Regions from separate parts of the Homo sapiens genome. Here all the other regions are linked to region 3. Evidence: promoter capture Hi-C in 16 types of primary human blood cells and fetal thymus (Javierre and others, 2016). All regions are on one chromosome and are shown on one strand. Each heading gives the region's core, a stretch centred on a gene start or on the middle of the fragment in contact. The rest is flanking DNA. Distances are from core to core; before and after follow the strand shown. Region 1 overlaps TRERF1 (transcriptional regulating factor 1). Region 2 holds the start of PRPH2 (peripherin 2). Region 3 holds the start of UBR2 (ubiquitin protein ligase E3 component n-recognin 2).

Region 1 (3,375 bases), core at 498-2,997, 250 kb before region 3:
CTCCTGGGCTCAAGTGATCCTCCCGCCTCAACCTGGGACTACAAACATGCGCCACCAGGGGTCTCCTTTAGCAGAGACAGGTTTCTGCCATGTTGCCCAGGCTAGTCTCCAACTCCTAGGCTGAAGCAATCTGCCTGTCTTGCCTCCCAAAGTGCTGGGATTACAAGCATAAGCCCCCGCACCCAGCCTAAAATTAAACTTAACTCAGCTTTTCAGTTGCACTAACTACTTTTCTTTTCTTTTTTAAGAAACGGGGCCTCACTCTGTCACCCAGGCTGGAGTGCAGTGGCTTGCTCACAGCTCACTGCAGCCTCTAACTTCTGGGCTCAGGCAATCCTCCTGCCTCGGCCTCCCAAAGTGCTAGGAGTATAGGCATGAGCCACCACGCCCCGGCCTACACATTTTAAGATGCTCAATAGCCACATGTGGCTAGTAGCTACCATATTAGACAGCACCAAATAGAACATTTCCCTCAATGCAGAGTCCTATTGGACAGGGCTCTCAGAGCAGCGTAGCTCAACCTTGGCATTTGTGACACTGTGGGTTGGATAATTCTTTGTTGTTGGTGGGGCTTTCTGTACATGGTGGAGCAGTAGTTCTCAACAGGGAGTGATTTTACTCCTCGAGGGATACTTGGCAATGTCCAGAGACATTGTTGGTTGTCACAGTTGGGGGAGTTCTTCTAGTATCTAATGGGTAGAGGCCACGGATGCTGCTAAACACCCTGGAAGGCATGGGACAGCCCCCAGCAAAGGACGATCTGGTCTAAAACGTTAGTAGGAGAAACCCTGCTCTAGTGTAATCAAGAGAACACTGCCAGTCTCAGCAGAACTGGTAGCAGGAGGCTAAGGAGGCCAAAGAGTACCCACCCCCAACCATTTGTCAAGCCCCAAGAAGCCTTCAGAACTCTGAGAAGCTACTCTCCAAGAAAGCAGGTGTCTATTTTTGCCAAAAATGCAGAACAAGAAGTTCTGGTTTCCAGAATAATCTATAAACTCATTACTAAAATGAAGTGCCTGCATTTCCAATCCCAAGGGCAAGGCAAGGAAGAAATTCCTTTTTGGCGTTGATGTTTGGAATGTGTGATAAATTCTGCATGTAAACCACAATCTGCTGTTGGTTAGGTGTAGAGATATATCACTCATTCAGTTGTGCATTCATCTATTTATTTATAAATATTTATTGAGCACCTACTATATGTTGGGTACTCTTCTAGTGTTGGAAACACAGCAGGAAACAAATAAAAGGTCCCTGCCTTTGTGGAGCAGATAGTCTAGTGGAGGAGAATAACAATATACAAGTAAGCAGGCATGTGTGCAATGTCATGGCAGGTATGATGAATGTTATGAAGGGAAATAAAGCAGGGTAAGGGTCAGAGGAGTGATGAACATGGGTGGCGCCTATTCATGGTCACCTGAAAAGGTGACATCTGGGCATAGGCCTAAATGAACTGGCTGAACCAGGTGACTCAGGGAAGGAAGAGAGTCCCAGGCAGAGGACACAGCAGCTGTGTCCTTCCACTCTTTGGTGGAATGAACTTGGTGGAGGGAGCCGGCAGGTGCGGTCAGCAAGGCAGGAGGCCAGGCTGTAGGCATGAGATCATGGAGGGGCCGGGCGCGGTGGCTCACTCCTGTAATCCCAGCACTTTGGGAGGCCGAGGTGGGTGGATCACAAGGTCAGGAGATCGAGACCATCCTGGCTAACATGATGAAACCCCGTCTCTACTAAAAATACAAAAAAAATTAGCCGGGCGTTGTGGCGGGCGTCTGTAGTCCTAGCTACTCGGGAGGCTGAGACAGGAGAATGGCGTGAACCTGGGAGGCAGAGGTTGCAGTGAGCCAAGATCGTGCCACTGCACTCCAGCCTGGGCAACTGAGCAAGACTCCGTCTCAAAAAAAAAAAAAAAAAAAAAAAAAGAGATCATGGAGGGTTGTGAGCAGAGGAGAGATGGGGTCTGATTCACTTTTCACGTGGAGAACAAACTACAAGAGGACAAGAGTGGAGAAAGCTGTTGTCGTCTTCCAAGTAAGAGAGGGTGCTGGCTTATTAATAATTCATTAATTAAACCATCAACATTAATACAAATTATCTATTGGGCCAATGCTATTACTCTTTTATTTCAGACATATCATGGGGAGACCAGGCATCGCATTCCAGCTACTTCTACAGAAAAATGCATTCTGAGTTCCATGATCAACTTGAAACCTTTTCCATCCACCTTGGTTTTAAGCTGGGTACTGTGTGGTTGGATAGAAGACAGCAGGAAAGGGAGTCAGGGATGAGGGCAGATTAACAGGAGGAAAAAAGGGCATCTCCCCTCATCATGCCCTTTTCCCCAGAGCCACCAGAGAAGAGCAGTCTGAATGGAACCTTCCTATCATACTCCTTCCAAGGTTTGTTGGGCAGCAGATAGATGAGCCCCAGCTGTTCTGCTCCAGGCTGGCTCTCCCAGAAGGATGGCACTGCAGCTGTGTCCAAAAGAGAGCTACGGAGTCTTTCTCAGAAGCGGGGAGCCCCTACTTTAGAGTTTCCGAAGATTCAAGGCAGCACTGGATCACGGAGTCAGTAGAAGTGGGGCAGAAGAATCCCCCTGTGCCGCTTACAAAACGCACAACAGGCATGTCAGCCAATCTCTCTGATCCTCGGCATTCCCCTCTGTAAAATGGAAACAACCTCCTTGGCCTCTCAGAGTGGTTATGATGGGTCAAAGCAGACAATGCTGGCGCTGGGTGTGCCGAGGTCTGGGCATCTGCACCTTCGGGAGCAGATACAGATGCTCCATCCTCCACGGGCATATGGATTTGTGCTGTACTCACATCCAGGTAATTTGGCTTTACCCATGGAAAGGGGCTTCCCTTTCATTAATTCATCGACTCCACACACATGCACTGGGTCTTAGTGCCGGGTGTGGTGTTTGGAAGAACAGTCAGAGGCAGCCCCCACTCTCCAGGAACACAAGGGCAGAGTGGGAGACAGACACGAAATAGGTTCTACCAATGTTCCTTCTCCTTCAGTGCCTGGTTGCCCAAATAGTTTTCTTGCCTTCAGACTAGAGCCACCAGCCTTTTGGGGCCTACAGATTCCCCTCATCTACCCATAGCTTGCAGCCTCGACCCTGGGGCAGTGCCCTCTGCTCATTTCCAGACTGGGAAGCAGGCCTGATTGTTTCTGCTGAAGCAGGAAAAGATGGTGAGAGAAAGGCAGGGCTGGCTGTGTAGAGAGGGGAACCAGCAGAAGTTTTGCCTTCAATAAGGCTTTCCTTCCAGCCCACACTTCCAGGACACCCACTTGTGACCCTGAGATCGCCTGGGGTTCGGCATCTCTCTGGTGCTTCCCAAGGAACGTCTTCAAGAGAAGGCTCCGGCTCTGAGTCAT
Region 2 (3,340 bases), core at 76-2,575, 160 kb after region 3:
CTTGGGAATGGATGCTCAGGGTTGAAAGGTTGGAAAACAAGGGAACTAACTAGGAAATTTAAACTTCTGGGACTGAATCCATCTACTTTGAATGAATGGGACAAATAGCCAAATAGTACCTCAGTGTTTGTGATCTATGAATGACTTCCATCCCTCTGTATAAAGTGGACACACATTGCTGCCTGGCTCTTCATCCCAAGGGGCTCCTATCCAAACAGCTTATATAAATTGATACCTTCCTACCACCTTAGCCAATGTTAGGTTGAACCCTATGAAGTTGTCATTTTTTATGGGTCAAAGAGGTAGAATATTAGCAATTTCATATGGTTCCACCTGATACACCCTCACATACGCAGCAATAAGTTGTGCACCCGATGGAGAGGAAAAGGCACTGGGTGCGGGGAGAGGGGCTGGTCAGAGGCCTGAGCCTCAGTGTCCCCAATATATTCATAGCTCTGACCCCAGGACTGGAAGCCACTCACTCTTTGACTTCTTTGGAGGAAAAGTCCAGGTAGCGATTGCTGATCCACTGAATCTCAAACCAGTCCCGAAAACCGTTGTTGCCGCAGCATTTGAACTCGATCTGCAGCATGTCGATGGTCTTCTTCATGAAACACCTGCCAGGGGTGTCTGTGTCCCGGTAGTACTTCATGCCGTTCTTGAGCCCTTGGCCCAGGGTGTTCTCCAGCGAGCCCCGAAGCAGAAAGCAGCAGAGAGCCACAAGGAAGAGGATGATGTTGAAGAGAACACAGATAGCCAGGTACGGCTTCAGCCAGGGCTTCCATCTGGCATACTTGGCTGGGTCCAGGGCGTCGTAGCAGATCTTCCCAGCCAGCGAGTTGAAGACACAGGATAGCACCCCCATCCCTATCAATGAGTTGGGCACAAAATGGCTCTCAGAATTATTCATCACATCGCTCCTCTTTCGGAGTTCAATCTTCAGGAACAGTCCTAGGCTGAAGATGATGATGCCAGCCAACACGGAGAACCAGTTCATGAGCCAGAGCCCTTGGGCCAACTTGACCCGCTTCTTCTGGTCAAACTTGACTTTCAGTAGCGCCATGCTTGCCAAGTGTAGTCCGGGTTGCTTCCCACAGCACAGCTCCCACCCCAAACCTTAACGAGCCCAGAGGCGGAGACTTAGGGCCTTGGGAAAAGTGCAGATGGCCCAAGCTGTAGGGAGCTGCCCTGGGGGCTACCCATGTCGAGTCCCACTAGCCTGGGATCCCCGTGAATGCAGTAGTGGTGGCAGGGGTCTCGGAATCACAGCTTGAGCAGGGGATAGTCCTGGTCCTGGGCGTTGTTTCTTCAGCGCCCTTCCCAGCCAAGAAGGGGCAGCCTGAACGCTGCAGATTAAAAGTGGGATCCACAAGACATTTTGCTAATCTCTTTAGCCAGGTTCATCCCATTAGATAAAGCCATGCCACTCTCAAAACATGGTCAAAAGCAGCCTCCAGGTACATGCTGAACCAGAAAGCTCTGGGTACAGCTTGGAGAATCAGGAGCAAAGGGCAAGACTGGCCAGAAGAATGGGCTGTATCTGGATGTCTGGCTCAGACCGTGTTGCTCCCCAAAAGCATATTTCCAGGCCAATCTCCTTCAACATTTAAAACTTTCTGTAGGACAAATAAATTGTTATCCTCTCTGAGAAAAGAAATGACAGGGCCAGGCACAGTGGATCACGCCTATAATCCCAGCACTTTGGGAGACCAAGTTGGGTGGATCACTTGAGCCCAGGAGTTCAAGACCAGCCTGGGCTACATAGGAAGACCCCATCTCCACACACACACACACACACACAAAAAAAAAAAAAAAAAAATTAGCTGGGTATGGTGGCATGCACCTGTAGTTCTCCCAGCTACTCTGGAGGCTGAGGTGGCAAGATCACCTGAGCCTGGGGAGTTCAAGGCTGCACTGAGCCATGATCGTGCCACTGCACTCCAGCCTGGGTGACAGAGTGAGGCCCTGTCTCAAATTTTAAAAAGACAAAGAAAAGAAGAGAAGAAGGAAGGAAAGAAAGAAAGTGACAGATCGTGAGAAAACATTTGCAACTTGTAAAATTAAAAAGTAATATACAGTGGCCAGGCATGGTGGCTTATGCCTGTAATCCCAGTACTTTGGGAGGCCAAGGCAGGTGGATCGCTTGAGCCCAGGAGGTGGAGGTTGCACTGAACTGAGATCCCCACATTGCACTCCAGCCTGGGTGACAGTGAGACTCTGTCTGGAAAAAAAAAAAAAAGAATTAATATGCAAAAATGTTTTAAGTCTCACAAATTCACAATAAACAAAAATTCACAATCAAAAGACCAATAATCAACTGGAAAAATAGGCAAAAACCAGGAACAGACAATTCATAATTAGGAAACTTGAAAAGTCCAATAATCTGGAAAAGATCTCAACTTGGGTAATAAGCAGGAAAATGCAAATCCAAACAACAATAAAATACCAAACTTGGCCGGGCACAGTGGTTCACACCTGTAATCCCAGCAGTTTGGAAGGCCAAGGTGGGTGGATCACTTGAGGTCAGGCATTCAAGACCAGCCTGGCCAACATGGTGAAACCCTGTCTCTACTAAAAATACAAAAATTGTCTGGGTATGGTGACAGGCACCTGTAATCCCAGTTACTTGTGAGGCTGAGGAAGGAGCATCAATTGAACCCGGGAAGTGGAGGTTGCAGTGAGCCAAGATTGCGCCATTGCACTCCAGCCTGGGTGACAAGAGTGAAATGACGTCTCAAAAAAAGAAAAAGACCAAACTCGATCCATCAAATTGAATGTATGTCAAAATTCTGTCACCATACATCAACAAAGAGAGTGGAAGTAGAAGTGTACACTCTTGGTGAATCTGTACATTTATTATTATTATTAATTAATGGATTATTTCTTACAGTAGTTTTAGGTTTACAAAAAAATTGAACAGAAAATACAGGGAGTTCCCATTATTCTCCATCTCCCCAACCAGTTTCTCCTCTAATTAATATCTTGCATTAATGTGGTACATTTGTTACAATTAATGAACCAATATTGATGCACTATTATTAACTAAAGTCTATAGTTTACATTAAGGTTCAGTCTTTGTGCATATAATTCTGTCACTTTTGCCAAATGCATAATGTCATGTATTCATCATTATTGTATCATACAGAATACTTCCACTACTCTAATAACCTGCCATGTTCTGCCTATTCATTCCTCCTTCCCTCACTCCTCAGCCCTGGGCAACCACCGTCTAGATCTATAGTTTTGCCTTATCTAGAATATCTTACAGTTGGAATCATACAACATGTAGCCTTTTCAGACTGGCTTCTTTCCCTTAGCAATATATGTGATTAATGATTCT
Region 3 (3,010 bases), core at 1-2,500:
GTATTGGTTTAAAAAAAATCCCAAAACAACATAAACATAAACATGTCCTAAACCTGGTCTGGCTCAGAACTTTTCCCCCCTATATGTAATTTACAACCTACTTCTGGGAATAAATTAACACACTTGACAAAAGGTATAAACAATTTTCTGACAAACTCTAGAGACTGAAGACTTCTAAGAAGCCCAGTCACCCAGCTGTCAGTCAAGAGTCTAATTACCTTTAACTAAACATAGTTTTCTTTGATAGCTAGTCTAACAATGTTTACCTATTTCTTTTTTTTTTTTTTCCTTCTTTTTTGATACAGGGTCTCAGCTGTGTCACGCAGGCTGGAGTGCAGTGGGCTGATCACAGCTCACGATGGCCTCAACTGCCTGGGCTCAAGCAATCCTCCTGCCTCAGCTTCCCGAGTAGCTGGGACTACAGGCGTGCCACCACACCTGGCTAATTTTTTGATTTTTATCAAGAGGGTCTCGCTATGTTGTCCAAACTGGTCTCAAACTCCTGGGCTCAAGTAGTCTGCCCCCCTCGGCCTCCCAAAGTGCTGGAATTACAGGCATGAGCCACCAAGCTTGGTCTGATTATCTGTAGAAATTAAATGTCTCTATCAAGAGGAAATCTTTTAATTGGCCTAATAGACTCTTTTTCCTTTGCAGCAAGATTTGTGATAAAGTTTATAAGTGGTCATCACTAAAGTTTTTGAAAAATTTTTTAAAACATGTTTTAAACCTTCAAAAAAGTGGGTAATGTTCACCTCCATTACTCGTATAAAAGATATGGGTTCGATGGATGACAGGACATAGAACCACAGGAATAGAATGTAATTCATTCATTCCTTTGACAAGTATTTGAGTGCCTACCCTATGCCAGACTGGCAAGTCCTTGAGGGTCTACCATGTGCCAGGCAGTGTTCTTGAAGCTGGGGATACAAAAATGAACAAACGAGATTCGGAGAATAAAACTACAGTTCCCACAGTATCTTTCTCTTTGGCTTTTTTCCAGGGGGCGCTGCTTTCCGCGACTGTCTTCCCATGATTCTCGTTGGGCAGAAAAGCCCCGCCCGCTTATCTGCCATTTAAGCCAGCGCCCCTTGAGAATGGACTACAACTCCCACAATGCATTCGAGGGGCACCGTGTTAGGGCGCCACCTTTTTCCCGGCTGTGCTGTACCTACAGCACCCAGAACTACAGTACCCAGAAAGCTCCGCTTCCCCTCCTGGGTGTTATTGCCCCTTTCCTGGTGCAGGACGCGGTAGTGGCCAGCGAGAGTGTCAGGCCTGGGGTTTTCTGTGTCCTTCCCTGGGTCAGGGACGAGCCAGTGACTTGACTCTTGGGCGCTAAGCTTGGGAGGGAGCGCAGGAGGCCGCTGTCCTTCCTTTCCGGTTCACGTCACCCTTCTCTCCCTCTGTTGCTCCACCTGCAGCCACTTGGACGGCTCCGGGACTGATTGCCTGGGGCAGGGGTGGCAGTCGAGGCCGCCGGGGCCGAGGTGAGGCTGCAGCTCTCCGGGCGGCGGTAGCGCTGGGGAGGAGGAGGAGAGAAGATGGCGTCGGAGCTAGAGCCAGAGGTGCAGGCCATCGACCGGAGCTTGCTGGAATGTTCGGCCGAGGAGATTGCGGGGGTGAGTGCCGGAACCCGGGCGGGTGCGTCTGCCCCTCGCAGGCCGCGCCTGTGGGGAGGAACCGACTCCTGGACGTCCTGGAGCAGCCCGACCCAGACTTGGGGAAACAGCTGTGCCGGCCCTCGCCTTGTGGGGTAATAGCCCGGGGAGGCCACCGATCCTGCCCCTCTCTTTCCATTTTCAACAGCTGCCAGAGCTGCGCTGTGCACTAACTACGTTTACTTTCCCTTTCTGCCCAGGAGAACCCACGGCTCTTCCATCATACCTCCTTTCCCCCAGCCTCCCATTAAGTCTCCCAACACATGGGCCTTTGCCCTTTATATCAGCTCTTGGAAGAGGAGAAGAGACGCTTCTTGTGTTTTTGGTATAATCGCCCTAGTTTATCTAGTTAATTGCTTTTCCTGAGACAAGCGAAGCCGTGTGCTCCTCCGACTAAACATGCCACCCTAACCGAGCCCCTCTTTTGTTTTTGGGACTGCCCCAGGCACCAAGAAGGCAAACGACACTACCCTTCGTTATCCGTTTCAGTGCTATCTTTTTTTTTTGCACCGGTTTGATTAGTTGACAACGTTGATGCATGTGTGGAAAGTTTACTGAGTATGAGAAAGTAGTCGTGGAGTCTGGGAAATTTTAAAAATATTTTTTCTAGGAGTTAGGGGTAATTGGATGGAGAACAAATGTTATATAACGTTGATAGAGCAGCTTTCAACAAATACTGTATAAGCTAAACGTGAGAACTGGTCACAGTGTAGTAGGAGCAGTTATATTCCAAACGTAAAACCGTTCAAACGCACTATTGCATTAAAACTGTAATATGAATATGCTAGTGTAAATAGCAGAGTTGTAGGAACACCCATTAGAAGAGATTGCCGAGAATGATTATGAATGGACCAAGACAGCTTGGGCCCCACCTCTAAGACCTCCAATTAAAAAGGCTGCTAGGAAGGGAGTGACCCGTGAATAAAAGTCAGCAATCTGAATGCTACGAACAAAATTTGGGATTGGGGGCACTGTGGAGCTGTTGGTCAGTGAGTAGTTATTTTGCGTGAATTGGTGAGGACATTAAGTCCGGGTAGAAAGAAATGTCAGGAGTAGAGGTGAAGACTTTAAAGAAATACGTTGTTAAATGCTGAATCTTTGCTTGTTTGGGTGTGTTTTGTTGTTGTTTGTTTTTGTTTTTGAGACGGAGTTTCGCTTTCGATGCCCAGGCTGGAGTGCAGTGGCGCGATCTCAGCTCACCGCAACCTCAGTCTCCCGGGTTCAAGCGATTCTGCTGCCTCAGCCCCTCGAGTAGCTGGGATTACAGGCATGCACCACCACGCCCGGCTAATTTTGTATTTTTAGTAGAGTTGGGGTTTCTCCATGTTGGTCAGGGTGGTCTCAAACTCCCG

The links. The method cuts DNA at HindIII sites, captures the fragments that hold promoters and counts their contacts. A CHiCAGO score of 5 or more calls a contact.
Region 1: a fragment that was not itself captured here is called in contact with the fragment with the promoter of UBR2 in region 3 in 2 of 17 cell types (M1 macrophages and M0 macrophages); the score reaches 6.6 in M1 macrophages.
Region 2: a contact is called between the fragment with the promoter of PRPH2 here and the fragment with the promoter of UBR2 in region 3, in 1 of 17 cell types (erythroblasts). The highest score is 5.1, in erythroblasts.

What each region holds. Positions count from the first base shown.
Region 1 is chr6:42,309,875-42,313,249 of GRCh38, forward strand. The region is part of intron 3 of TRERF1 (transcriptional regulating factor 1); the gene reads right to left. Among named protein-coding and RNA genes, the nearest start is that of MRPS10, 94 kb to the left of the region's middle. The HindIII fragment of the contact is 5,172 bases long and covers 1-3,375 here.
Region 2 is chr6:42,721,272-42,724,611 of GRCh38, forward strand. PRPH2 (peripherin 2) reads right to left here and starts at 1,326. Exons shown (of 3, transcript NM_000322.5): 1 at 483-1,326. The coding sequence starts at 1,063. The HindIII fragment of the contact is 19,648 bases long and covers 1-3,340 here.
Region 3 is chr6:42,562,779-42,565,788 of GRCh38, forward strand. UBR2 (ubiquitin protein ligase E3 component n-recognin 2) reads left to right here and starts at 1,251. Exons shown (of 47, transcript NM_001363705.2): 1 at 1,251-1,619. The coding sequence starts at 1,542. RefSeq lists enhancers at 813-892, 963-1,482 and a silencer at 2,515-2,644. The HindIII fragment of the contact is 771 bases long and covers 568-1,338 here.